Linked DNA regions of Homo sapiens: region 1 is linked to region 2. Evidence: promoter capture Hi-C in human tissues and cell types (Jung and others, 2019). All regions are on one chromosome and are shown on one strand. Each heading gives the region's core, a stretch centred on a gene start or on the middle of the fragment in contact. The rest is flanking DNA. Distances are from core to core; before and after follow the strand shown.

Evidence for each region. The method cuts DNA at HindIII sites, captures the fragments that hold promoters and counts their contacts. A contact is called where the count stands out against the background at its distance.
Region 1: a contact is called between a fragment that was not itself captured here and the fragment with the promoter of AAGAB in region 2, in 6 of the 25 tissues and cell types used here (H1 embryonic stem cells, IMR-90 fibroblasts, aorta and 3 more).

What each region holds. Positions count from the first base shown.
Region 1 is chr15:67,148,521-67,154,468 of GRCh38, forward strand. All of the region lies in intron 1 of SMAD3 (SMAD family member 3), which reads left to right. Among named protein-coding and RNA genes, the nearest start is that of SMAD3-AS1, 4.6 kb to the left of the region's middle. RefSeq lists enhancers at 1-619, 1,427-2,234, 4,758-4,927, 5,930-5,948. The HindIII fragment of the contact is 4,294 bases long and covers 781-5,074 here.
Region 2 is chr15:67,251,089-67,256,789 of GRCh38, forward strand. It overlaps AAGAB (alpha and gamma adaptin binding protein), which reads right to left and starts at 3,573. Exons shown (of 10, transcript NM_024666.5): 1 at 3,471-3,573. The coding sequence starts at 3,543. IQCH (IQ motif containing H) reads left to right here and starts at 3,698. Exons shown (of 21, transcript NM_001031715.3): 1 at 3,698-3,859. The coding sequence starts at 3,809. RefSeq lists an enhancer at 3,314-3,633. The HindIII fragment of the contact is 6,332 bases long and covers 1-5,701 here.

The DNA of each region.
Region 1 (5,948 bases), core at 1,678-4,177, 100 kb before region 2:
AGAGCTTCCTCATTCAAAAACATTTTAGCTTCCTGCACTTCCCCGCTGGTTGCTTTCGCCTAACTGGCACCTGTGGCTGTCATTCCCCTGCTGTTTTTAATTGCACCTCTCAAGACCAGCTGATTGCTTAAAGAACATTTCTGGTATTGGGCCCATGGCAGTAATGTGCGTCTGTGGATCCCTTTGCTATGAGGCTTGACTTCTTGATCGGGTTCACAAGGCTGGTGGGCAGCCTGAGATCTTTGCTTATTTCCTACGTCTTCTGAAAGGTACTATGAAGCTTACCAGTTGCTGATGCACGCTATCAGCTAATAATTCCATTACCATTACTATTTTCTGAGCAAATGTGACCTGCAAGCCCCTCGCTCCATCCAGGATGCAGGCAAAGTTAAGCTAGGTTTCCTTTCCCTCAAGGAGCTCCTGGCACAGTTGGGAAGGGAAGTCAGAAACACACAGAAGTCACTTCATCATACCAGGCCTTTGGTGCTAAATGATGATGAATTTGAAGAGTGTGGGACAGTGGGGATGGTGGACTGTAAGAGTTCGAGGAGGGGAGGATGGAGAGAGGTCATTCTTAGCAGAGAGCCACAGAGTGGGTTACTGTTTGAGCTGGAAGATAATTGGACCTCCAAGGGCTCTGTCCCCACCTGCACCTCAGCGCACTATGCTGGTGGCCAAGAGTGCAGGAGCCTCACATTCAGATACTGTGGCTGCAACATTTTACCTCCACTACTTGGGCCTGTTCAGCATTTTGAGTTTCTATGCCTGTAAATTAGGCCTGTCTAGGAAGTGGGGGTGAGGTGGTGGGTGGGCAGGTGCTCTGAATCTCAGCTGGGACTGGGTGGGCTGATACCGGGGAGAGTTGTAAGTATCTAGGACCCAGCGGGAGGACGCCTCACCTGGAACCCTTTGCTTGTTCCTGATTGTAGCTGTTTTAGGGATGCAGCTTTCAGACAAGGGCCACTTAGTTGATGAGGCCGGCTTAATCGAGGAGGGCTGTTGCCACCCTGACATTGTTAAGTGTGGGCCTGGCTTCTCTGAAGTCCTCCTTTCTTGCTTGTGTGGAATTCCTGTTTTCCTGCCCATAGGGGTTCTTTGCTGTCTTAGGTGAATTGCCCCAATGAACCAGAACCTTTTTTTTTTTAGGTACAATAGGAGGTCTGTACCCTTAGACAGAAAGGAATGCTAATTGGCCACTTAACTGTCCTCAGGGTACAGATGCCAGAATATACAGGGCACCCATTCTTTGTTACCATTTGGGATGGAAACTGCTTATATAAGCTTGTAAAGCTTTGGTTCAGAAAGCAAGAGAATGTGTATGGAACGTTAGCAATTGCTGTCATGCAAATGCTGCATTTTTTGCATGTAAAGGTACCTCTTTACCTCCATGGTCCTTAAACTAACTTTTTCAAGAAACATGGTCATTTCCCACCCTTCCTTTACTTCCAGCTCCCCATTCATACCCAACAGTGGCTAACTGAAAGGTTTGCAAATCCTGAAGGCTTTGGGGCTTCTTTTAAAAAGAAGAGACTGAGTTGTAAATGTCATAAGACTGAGATGGTTGTAAATGTCCCAACCATACTGTGTGACATTTGCTAGGAATTGTTGTAAAATCACTGGAGTGAGCGCTTGTCCTGAGGCACTGCCTCTCCGCGTGAATGTCACTGAGTCGCCCGGTTGACCCGTTGCATGTTATGCAGCACTTGTGACATTGTTTTATCTCTCTAGCCGGTGACTCATAATTAAGGAAGTCAAAACTGTGCAATTAACACAAAACCTCCTCATTTGCCCTCTTCACCTCTCCCCAACCCCCGCCCCCAGTCAGGAATGCCCGCCTGACATTTTCTCTAAGTCTTTGGAAACTTTAAGATTTGTTTTGATAGAACAAGGCCGCCAGTTATCATCGCCTGGTTCCACTTGTTTTACCCCAAAAGTCTGTGAGAATCTTTTCCAGGAAAAAAAAGAAAGAAAGAAAGAAAGTAAATCCCACCCCCAAGCGTGCAGTCTGCCCACAGGAAGTGATTCATGGTGCTCCGATTCGGGCAGACCTGACTGCAGGAGGCGGGAGGCTGGGAACCAGGTCTGGGAAAAGAGGGCAGAGAGAGGATACCCAGACCTAATGGCTTCTGCTCTGTGGAAGAAAGTGAAAAACAGAATGACTAAGAGTCCTGTAATAAGAATTGTTTGTTTTGTGAAGTTGAACTAATAGTGAGGTTTGCCGGCAGATAAGACTTGAGAAATTGCAGTTGTCAGGGGAGGGGACTTTTCCATGTCCTGCTTTTTTTTTTTTTTTTTTTTTATTAAGAGAGCAAAGCTATTTCTCAGTCTTTTTTTTTTTTTTTTTTTTTTTTTTGAGATGGAGTCTCTCTCTGTCGCCCAGGCTAGAGTGCAGTGGCACAATCTCGGCTCACTGCAACCTCCACCTCCCAGGTTCAAGTGATTCTCTTGCCTCAGCCTCCCCAGTAGCTGGGATTACAGGTGCCCACCACCATGCCTGGCTAATTTTTTTGTATTTTTAGTAGAGACGGGGTTTCACCATGTTGGCCAGGTTGGTCTTGGAACTCCTGACCTCAGGTGATCTGCCCACCTTGGCTACCCAGAGTGCTGGGATTACAGACGTGAGCCACCACGCCAGGCCTTATATCTCAGTCTTAAGACATTCATATATTAGTGGAAGGCCCAGATTTGTGTTTCAGTTCTACCTTGCCACCTCTAAGCCTGTTTTCTTTTCTTTGGAGAAGAGGGTCTAAGATGAGACCATTATCTCACAGTCTCCAATAGCTCTTTCTCCCCATTTTCCCTTTTATTTATTTATTTATTTATTTATTTTGAGACGGAGTCTCTCTCTGTTGCCCAGGCTGGAGTGCAGTGGCACAATCTCGGCTCACTGCAACCTCCACCTCCTGGGTTCAAGCGATTCTCCTGCCTCAGCCTCCTGAGTAGCTGGGACTACAGGCTTGCGCCACCATGCCCGGCTAATTTTTGTATTTTTAGTAGAGACAGGGTTTCACTATGTTGGCCAGGCTGGTCTCGAACTCCTGACCTTGTAATCCACCCACCTCAGCCTCGCAAAGTGCTGGGATTACAAGCATGAGCCATTGCACCCAGGCTATTTTCCCTTTTTCCTTTCCCTCTAAAGTTAGAGTTTTTGAAAAATATTTGATTTTTTTAAATTGACAAATAATTGTCCATATTCATGGGATACATAGTGATGTTTTGATACATATTAATGTCATTATGGTGATCACATCAGGTTAATTAGCATCTCCATCCTGTCAAGCATTTATCATTTCTTTGGGTTGGAAGCATTCAATATCCTCCTTCTATTTGAAACTATGTAATATATGAATGTTACTATGTATGTTACTATATAAGCATTCAATATTCTCCTATTTGAAACTATGTAATATATGATTATACATAGTAACAATCATATATTACATAATAATTGTAAACTATGTAATAATAATATTGTAATATATGATTGCTAGATATTTGAAGCTATATAATATATTATTGTTAAGTATAATCATCTTACAGTGGTTTAGGACACTAGAACTGATTTTTCCTCTTTAGCTGTAATTTTGAGACCTTTAACAAATTTCTCCCCATCCCTCTGTTCCCTTTACACTTTTCAGCCTCTAGTATCTTCTATTCTGTTTTTACAAAGTTAGAGTTTTGGGGCTGATAAATGTTTTTACCTAAATACTCATTTTTGTTTCCACCAAATGGAACATCATGTTGTCGTAGAATGAAGGAATCCTTTCTGTCCTATGGGTTATTTTCTTCTCCCTCAAACTGACAATGCAAATTAATTTGATTCCCCAAAGTAGTTTGGAAACAGAGAAGACTCTAAGTGTTGGCTACATGAACAGGCCTGCTGCCGAGCGAGAGGCCCAGATCACCCAGAATGAGAAGATGGGTCTAAACACACCTGGCTTTGTGACTTACTCCATTTCAAGCTTCCTGTATTGTTGGAGGTCAGCTTTTGGGGGTGAGGGATTTTAATGAAAGCTGAGGTGAAGTCCACTGTTGCCTTAAGCCCATCAGAACGTTGCCAAGGGCTGTGAGTATGCTGAATGGGTCCATGAGTGATCTCTTAAAAAAACATAAACCATTGTCAGGCCTAATTTTCAGCAGAGTGAAATGGCCACCCAGAAGATTCTGTGAAGCCTGGCAACTTTTCCCTTTCTTCCAGTAGTCACAGACCAACCCAGATCTTTGTAGCATCTTTTATTTGTGACTTGAAAGTTCTATGATCCTGCTGACACTCAAGAAAAAGCAATCCCCATCAACTTGGTGCTTGGAGAAAAAAGTTTGTGAAGACCAAAGCTATTAAATAGAAAAGCCCTAAACACTCTCCTCCTCCTCCTCCTTCAATATTTAACCGTCTTCTTTGCATGGGGGAAGGGAGGGGCTCTCACCACAGCCAAAAGAGAATCTCTGCTGATTTAAACCCAGTGTGCTTTGTAGTCATAGAGAACTGAGTTTGGAGTGTAACATCTAGGTTCAAGCCCAGGCACTGTTCCTTGCTGGGTGACTTTGGGCAAGTCACTCAGCATCAAAAATTTTTCATCTGTAAAATGGGAGTGATGAGATACTCAGCCTGCAGGATCCCTTTATCCAGTGAGTTACTGAGTGAGAAGTGCTGGGTAAACGCTTGCTCTGAGGTGTAAATTGCTTCTGTTTGGCCAGGTGCAGTGGCTCACGCCTGTAATCCAAGCACTTTGGGAGGCTGGGGCAGGTGGATCACCTGAGGTCAGGCGTTTGAGACCAGCCTGGCCAATATTGTGAAACCCCGTCTCTACTAAACATGCAAAAATTAGCCAGGCGTGGTGGTGCATGCCTGTAATCCCAGCTACGCAGAAGGCTGAGGCAGGAGAATCACCTGAACTGGAGGTTGCAGTGAGCCAAGATCACTCCGCTGTACTCCAGCCTGGGCAACAAGAGCAAAACTCCGTCTTGGGGGGCGGGCGGGGGGGATTCCTTCTGTTTTCCCGCATCTTGCTCATCTCAGAGCATTTCCTTAGCCCAGGGGGATCTCAAGGGGAGGGAAGAGAGCAGATTTGCCCCCCAGGGGACATTTGGCAATGTTTAGAGGTATTTTTTTTCAGTTGTCACAGCTGCAGGTGGGTCACAGCTACCGGCATCCAGTGTGAGGGAGCCAGACATGCTGTTAAGCATTCTATATCTGTCTCTACACAGGACAGCCCCCTAGCCCCAACAAAGATTAGCCCAAAACATCAGTAGTGCCAACGTTGAGAAACTCTGGGCCTCGCCAAATCCATAGCCTGATGTTGAAAAGTTCTTGGTGTCTGCGTGCTTTACAGATAATTATCATCAGGCTGAACTTTCTCCAGTAACCAACCTTCTTCTTTTCCAGAAAGTACAAATTCTGTGCCCACCCATGGCCCTTGGGAGGTGGGATAGCCCAAGGTCTAGGCGATCTTTGTGTGTTTCCAGTGGAGTCCAGCCCTCCCAAGGATAAGGCAAGGTGTTTCTTGGCTTCCCCCTCCAAGGATCTGCCCAGGAGCCTTCTGCAACCTCTGTGGCTCCTGCCCAGGTTGCCCCATCTGCCTGGGGCACTTGTCATGGACCTGAGCCGGCTGCTCTGGAGAACTAGCAGAGGGAAAGAGAGGACTAAATATAATGGGAAGAAGTGAAGAAGAGGCCAGCTGCTGGTCTGGAGGATGGCATAGGGGGCTGCAGCCTGGCATTTTATTTGGTTTCCCCCTAGACTGGCAGCATTCATGCCCAAAGCACTAGATATTGTCCATTTATAAGTTCAGATGAAAATTGAGTTGTTCTTGGTGGAAATGTTTTAGTGACTGGTATCAAGGGTTATGAAATCCTGTTTTCAGCTCTTCATGTCCAATCTAAACTGGAACATTCAAAAACATGCTTAGCACACTTACAGAACTTGTTGGGAACACTCAGGAAACTCAGCT
Region 2 (5,701 bases), core at 2,323-4,822:
CGATGTCAGACATCCACCCAGAATACTGCAAATAAGGCCTTTGAGTGACAAAAAGAAAAAGTTTCTAATGAAGTCCATGCATGCACTTTATGCATAGTAGAGGCCTACTGATTCTTATTTTAAGTGCGTGTGTGTGTGTGTGTGTGTCTGTGTGTGTGTGTGTGTGTGTATTTGAGACAGGGTCTCACTCTGTCACCTAGGCTGGAGGGCAGTAGCACCATCACAACTCACTACAGCCTCGATCTCCCAGGCTCAAGCAATCCTCCCACCTCAGCCTCCCAAGGAGCTAGGACGAAAGGCACATACCACTATGCCCGGCTAATTTGTTAACATTTTTATTTTTATTTTGTAGAGACTAGGTCTCCCTATGTTGCCCAGGCTGGTCTTGAACTCCTGTGCTCAAGTGATCCTCCCGTCCTGGCCTCCCACAGTGTTGGAATTCCAAGCATGCACCACTGCATTTGGACTGTTTTAAGAATAATTCTAATAAGCTGTTACTTGGTTATATTTCCCACTGGTGGTTAAAAGCACTAAGATAGATCAGATGTCCAAAGAAAGAGAAATTGGAGAACCCTAAAGGTTTCTCTCGCTGATACATGAAGTAGAACCAAACTTTCCCAAAAAGGTAGATCCAATTCAATCCAAAACTATTCCACGGCCTAATATCACCGAACACTTGACAAAATATTATGCGGGCTCCATCTCTTACCTCAAAATTAGAGTCAACCTGTGATTAATTTAATCCCAGCTTTAATTATAGTCAAAGAATGAATGCTCAGCAAATACTTCATTTTAACGCTATCCACTGCTACCCTATTCACAACCTTGGAAGAAATTATAAGCCCTCTTTTATGGTTCACTTTTCCTTATTCAAGTAATCTGCTCACTAGCTGTTCTTCTTTTATTTTTTACTACACGACAGTAACGAGTTGCAATGGAAAGGTCATCTGATCTTAACCCGAACTGGAATTATCTAAGAGCATTTTATATACAGAGATAAAATGGATTATTTTACAGAATTAATTTTACCCCCAATAATGCTAATACACTTTACAGAAGTACAATGTTACTATTTGCTAACTACAGGTAATCAGCTACTTCAAGGCAGGGACCATGTTTGCCGATTGGGATCATTAAAGCACACAACAGAGCACCATAGCATTTAGAATAATTAATATTCCTGAGATTGTCTTGAAAAGACTTCCATGTATCGCTAATAGGATTCCTAATGCATGTAAGTCTTTTGGAAAGTTAGTTACATCTTTAAGAATCTTGAGCAAATTCTGGTTTATTCACTAGATGGATATATGTGAGAAACTAATTTTTGATAAATCTGAGGATAAGAACTGTGTATTTAAAAAATTTTTAAAAACAGAAAAAATTGTGTATTAAATGTAATTACAATTATTTCTTTTTAAGAAACTGCAATGGAAAAAAAGACTGGAAAGAAATGTTAGCAGTATTTGTAGTTGGGTAATGAGACTATGGCTATTTTCTTTTCTCTGTATGCTAAATTTTACTTAGTATGCACTAGTTTTACAATGAAACAATTAAAGAAAAAAGAGGAAGGAAGGAAGAAAAGAAGGAAGAAAGGAGGGAAGGGAGAAAATAGGAAGGAGCACTGCTTAAAGGTAAGAAAATGGCCTAATTAGACCAGTTAGTAACCACTTAGTTAAATGCTATAATTAAGCTTTTACCCTAGCAAGGAACTTTCTAAGTGATCACAAATGATAACTAAGTCATATAATATCTGCACTGAAGGGACATCTTACCTAATTCTGTCATTTGACAGGTGTAGCAAAGAAATTATAATTATACAATGCTTTACAGTTTACAAAGTGTGTTCAAAATGTCACATCATCTGTCCTTCAAATACTCCTGAAATAGGCTCATATGCCCCATTTTAAGGATCAGGAAATTGAGGGTTACAGAGATAGTAATGTGCCTTAATAATAATGTCTATGATTTATCAAATGTTTACTATGTGCCAGACTCGGGGATAAGCACAATCTTGCGAAAATTATCCCTATTTTATAGATAGAAGGTGAAGGGGCCGGGCGCGGTGGTGACTCACACCTGTAATCCCAGCACTTTGGGTGGCAAAGGCAGGCAGATCACTTGAGCCCGGGAGTTCCAGACCAGCCTGGGCAACATGGCCAAACCCCGTATGACGGGGGGGGGGGGGGGCAATTAGCCGGGCGTGGTGGCACACACCTGTAGTCCCAGATACTTGGGAGGCTGAGGTAGGGGGATGGCTTGAGCCCAGGAGGCAGAGGTTGCAGTGAGCCGAGATAACGCCACTGCACTACAGCCTGGGCAGCAGAGTGAGACCCTATCTCAAAACAAAAATAAAAAAAAGGAGAGAAAAGAGAAAGTGAAGGGTAGCCAGGCACAGTGGCTCACGCCTGTAATCTCAGCACTTAGGGCGGCCAAGACAGGAGGATCACTTGAAACCACGAGTTGGAGACCAGCCTGAGCAACATAGCAAGACTCTGGCTCTACAAAAAATAAAAAAATTAGCCAGGGTTCGTGGTGTGAGCCTGCAGTCCCAGTTGCTCGGGAGACTGAGGCAGGAGGATCGCTTGAGCCCAGGAGTTCGAGGCTGAAGTGAGCTATGATCGCATCACTGCACTCCAGCCCGGGCGACAGAGCAAGTTCCCGTCTCTTTAAAAAAAAAAAAAGAAAAGAAGGAAGGAATGTAGGTAGGTTAGGTGACTTGCTCGAGATCATACAGCTAAGTCACTGCTCTGATTCTAAGCCATACACTTAAAACAGAAGTCTTGAGTTACCTATAATTCAACTTCACAGAGCCCTTTAGTAGAGTTGGCTTATTATCCAGTCCCATGTTCTCTCTTTTAAGAGTTAGTAAGTCTGACAGCCATTATGAGGGTCTACAAGCAAAAGCACTAGCCCAATCATACCCAAAAACTCATGTTGGCGGAGAGCCCATGCCTCAGATGAAAGGCGTGAATAACTAGAGTGGAGCGGACAAAGCTAACAAGTCTTATAATGTACACATTAAGAAGCAGAATAAACTTCAGAGTAAATACGCAGAATAAACTTCAGAATTCAGAGTAAACACTCTCTCCCGGAGCAGCAAGGATAACAACATCACGATATCAACAATTCCAGCACCTTACACTCCTGTAACCTAGCGCAATTTCCGGAGAGCCTTCAGGTTCATCTCAACGGATCCTCGCAAAAACCTGTGGCCTGGGCTGAGCAGAGCGGGAAATCAGTCTCACTTTACACAGGAAGCCGAAAGGAACGCCGAAGAAGGCCGAGTGGGCAGAAAAGCACGAGATTAAGAGATAGGGGCAGCCACCTGGGGAGACTGGGCGCCTCCACTGACTGGAGGAAGAACGCAGGGCCCGCTGCGGGGACAAGGCCCAGAGAGGCCGTGGTGCTGGGTCCGTCGCCCGCTGAGGCTCAGGGGCCTTGGAGGTCGGCCCAGGCGCCTATCTACTCACGTTGGACCAGCTGGTCTCCTGAGAAGACGGAGGAGCAGCTGGTGACTAACGCACAGGGTACGCCAGCAGCCATAGCTGCGCTCGCGAGCCGGTTCCGTCAGGCAGCCGCTTCCGCCTTGGGCTGCACCACGGCCGCCGGCGCGAGGGGGAGACAGGCCGGAGAGGGCGTTCTCGGAATGACCAGGCTGGCCTGACCCCGCCCCTAGACCCCCTTCCGCTCCCAGCGTGGAACAGGCCAGGTCGCGCGCGGTGTTGCCATGGGGACGAGCGGCTCCGGCTGAAGGTTTCCGTGCTTGGAAACCGCGCCTCCGCGGAGGTAGCCGTTCCCTGACCTAGCCATGGCACAGAACACTGAAAACCACGACCCTGTCGGATCCATCTTAATCCAGGTGGGAAACGGGCTTCCCCCGGCCCTGCCCTGCCCAGCCGCGCCACTTCCGAGCGAGGTCCCGCGCGCCGATTCACCGACGCTCACCCATTTGGTGCGCCGCCCCTAGACTCCCTCCAACTCGCGAGAGGCTCCCAAAAATGCCCACCCAGACCTTCCCCCACGGCCCAGCACACTCCCGGTGACTTACCCTGTAGGTTACGCCCCAGAAGCAGGACTTTCTGCCTCTGGGAAAACTCTAAAACCGTTCACCCGGAACCTTTACTTCAGAAAAATTAACCTCACGCTGAGGCATCATTTTTAAATGTTATATTCTGAAAAATTTGAACCCATGACGTCGGGAGTGGAGGAGAGACAAATCGGACACTCTAGGAGGTGATAAGAAATTTGGAGACAAATTGAAATATGTGAATTGCTTTTCTTAAACACCCCAGTTTTTTAGATCTAAATGTTCCTCATTGGAGAACACACAGAAAAATCAAGATAACTTGGAATGAAAAAATGTGACATTTAAAAACTTAGTGAAAGACCTTTTTAATTTGAGAGGGGAAATGTCAAGAAAGTCTTGTCCAATACAGCTCAATTTGTAATAGTTGCACTCAGATGTTTCTGAAATGATCATGGCATTTTGTTTTCACATTTATGTGAGGTAACTTTAAGATATTTCCACATATATCATCGGTTTTAACTATCACATATATAATAGCTGCATTTGACTAAGTCTTGAAGTCATTTGTCTAAGGTCACTCTGTCAGGACTGTCACTCAGTTGGTCTGAAGTGGGTCTTACTCGTCAAAGGGATCTAATTTTTCTGGCAGAATTTTGATCTCTTACCTCCCATCTAGGAGAGACTTCCCTAAATGTACCTTTTCCCAAATACAAGCCCCTGAACTCACCAATTTCATAGACTTCCCCATTAAGAATCATACCTAATCTTACCTGATCTTTTCTCACCCTCACTTTCACCATCACGCAGCAATGAGTTTAGCCAAACTGCGAAGTCTGAGGGAACGGTCCACAAAAAACTGCCCTAACTTCAACACTCACTACCTGCAAGTTCAGGGGTCCCCAGAACCACCTCACTTCAGACCAGCTGGGTACAAACTTAGGGGCCCCATCACCACCCTCACATTCAATGATTCACTAGAACTATTCGCAGAGCTCAGGGAAGTGCTGTGCTCACATCTCCAATTTTATTATAGTGAAGGCATACAAATTAATCAGCCAAGGAAAGAGATGAATAGGACAGAGTCCAGGAGGGGTACAAACATAGAGCTTTTGGTCATCTTATCCCTGTGGAGTCATTGACGTCATTACCTGCATTACTTCCTCCCAGCCATGATATGTGACAATATGCATAGAATATTGCAACTAGAGAAGCTTATCTGAGGCTTTGATGTCCAGAGTTTTTACTGGGGCTCAATCTCACACTGCCCTTGTGGTTGACCATTAATCTCCAGCCCCTCCTGAATACTTTTAGTTTCCCGCTGCTCCAGAGGTCTGAGCTGATACAGCGTGGATCAAAACACCCATTATAAATCATGTTGATAGACTGTCTGGTGGCCAAAGCCCACAGACAAAGACACTTCTATCAGGCAGGACATCCCAGGCGCCTAGAGATCACCTCCCAGTAGCCAGGAGCGAAGACTGGACCCCTCTTTGGGTAAGGTTAATTCTTTGCTGCACATACCCACTCTTTTTATAGATTCCAAATAATTAGAACAATAATGGAGACTCTTACCTAGGATACAACATTATAGTAATAGATAACTGTTGACACTGACTTGTGAGATGGGTCAGAAGAGCTAATAGTCATATCCATGTTGATCTGCACCCCTACTTA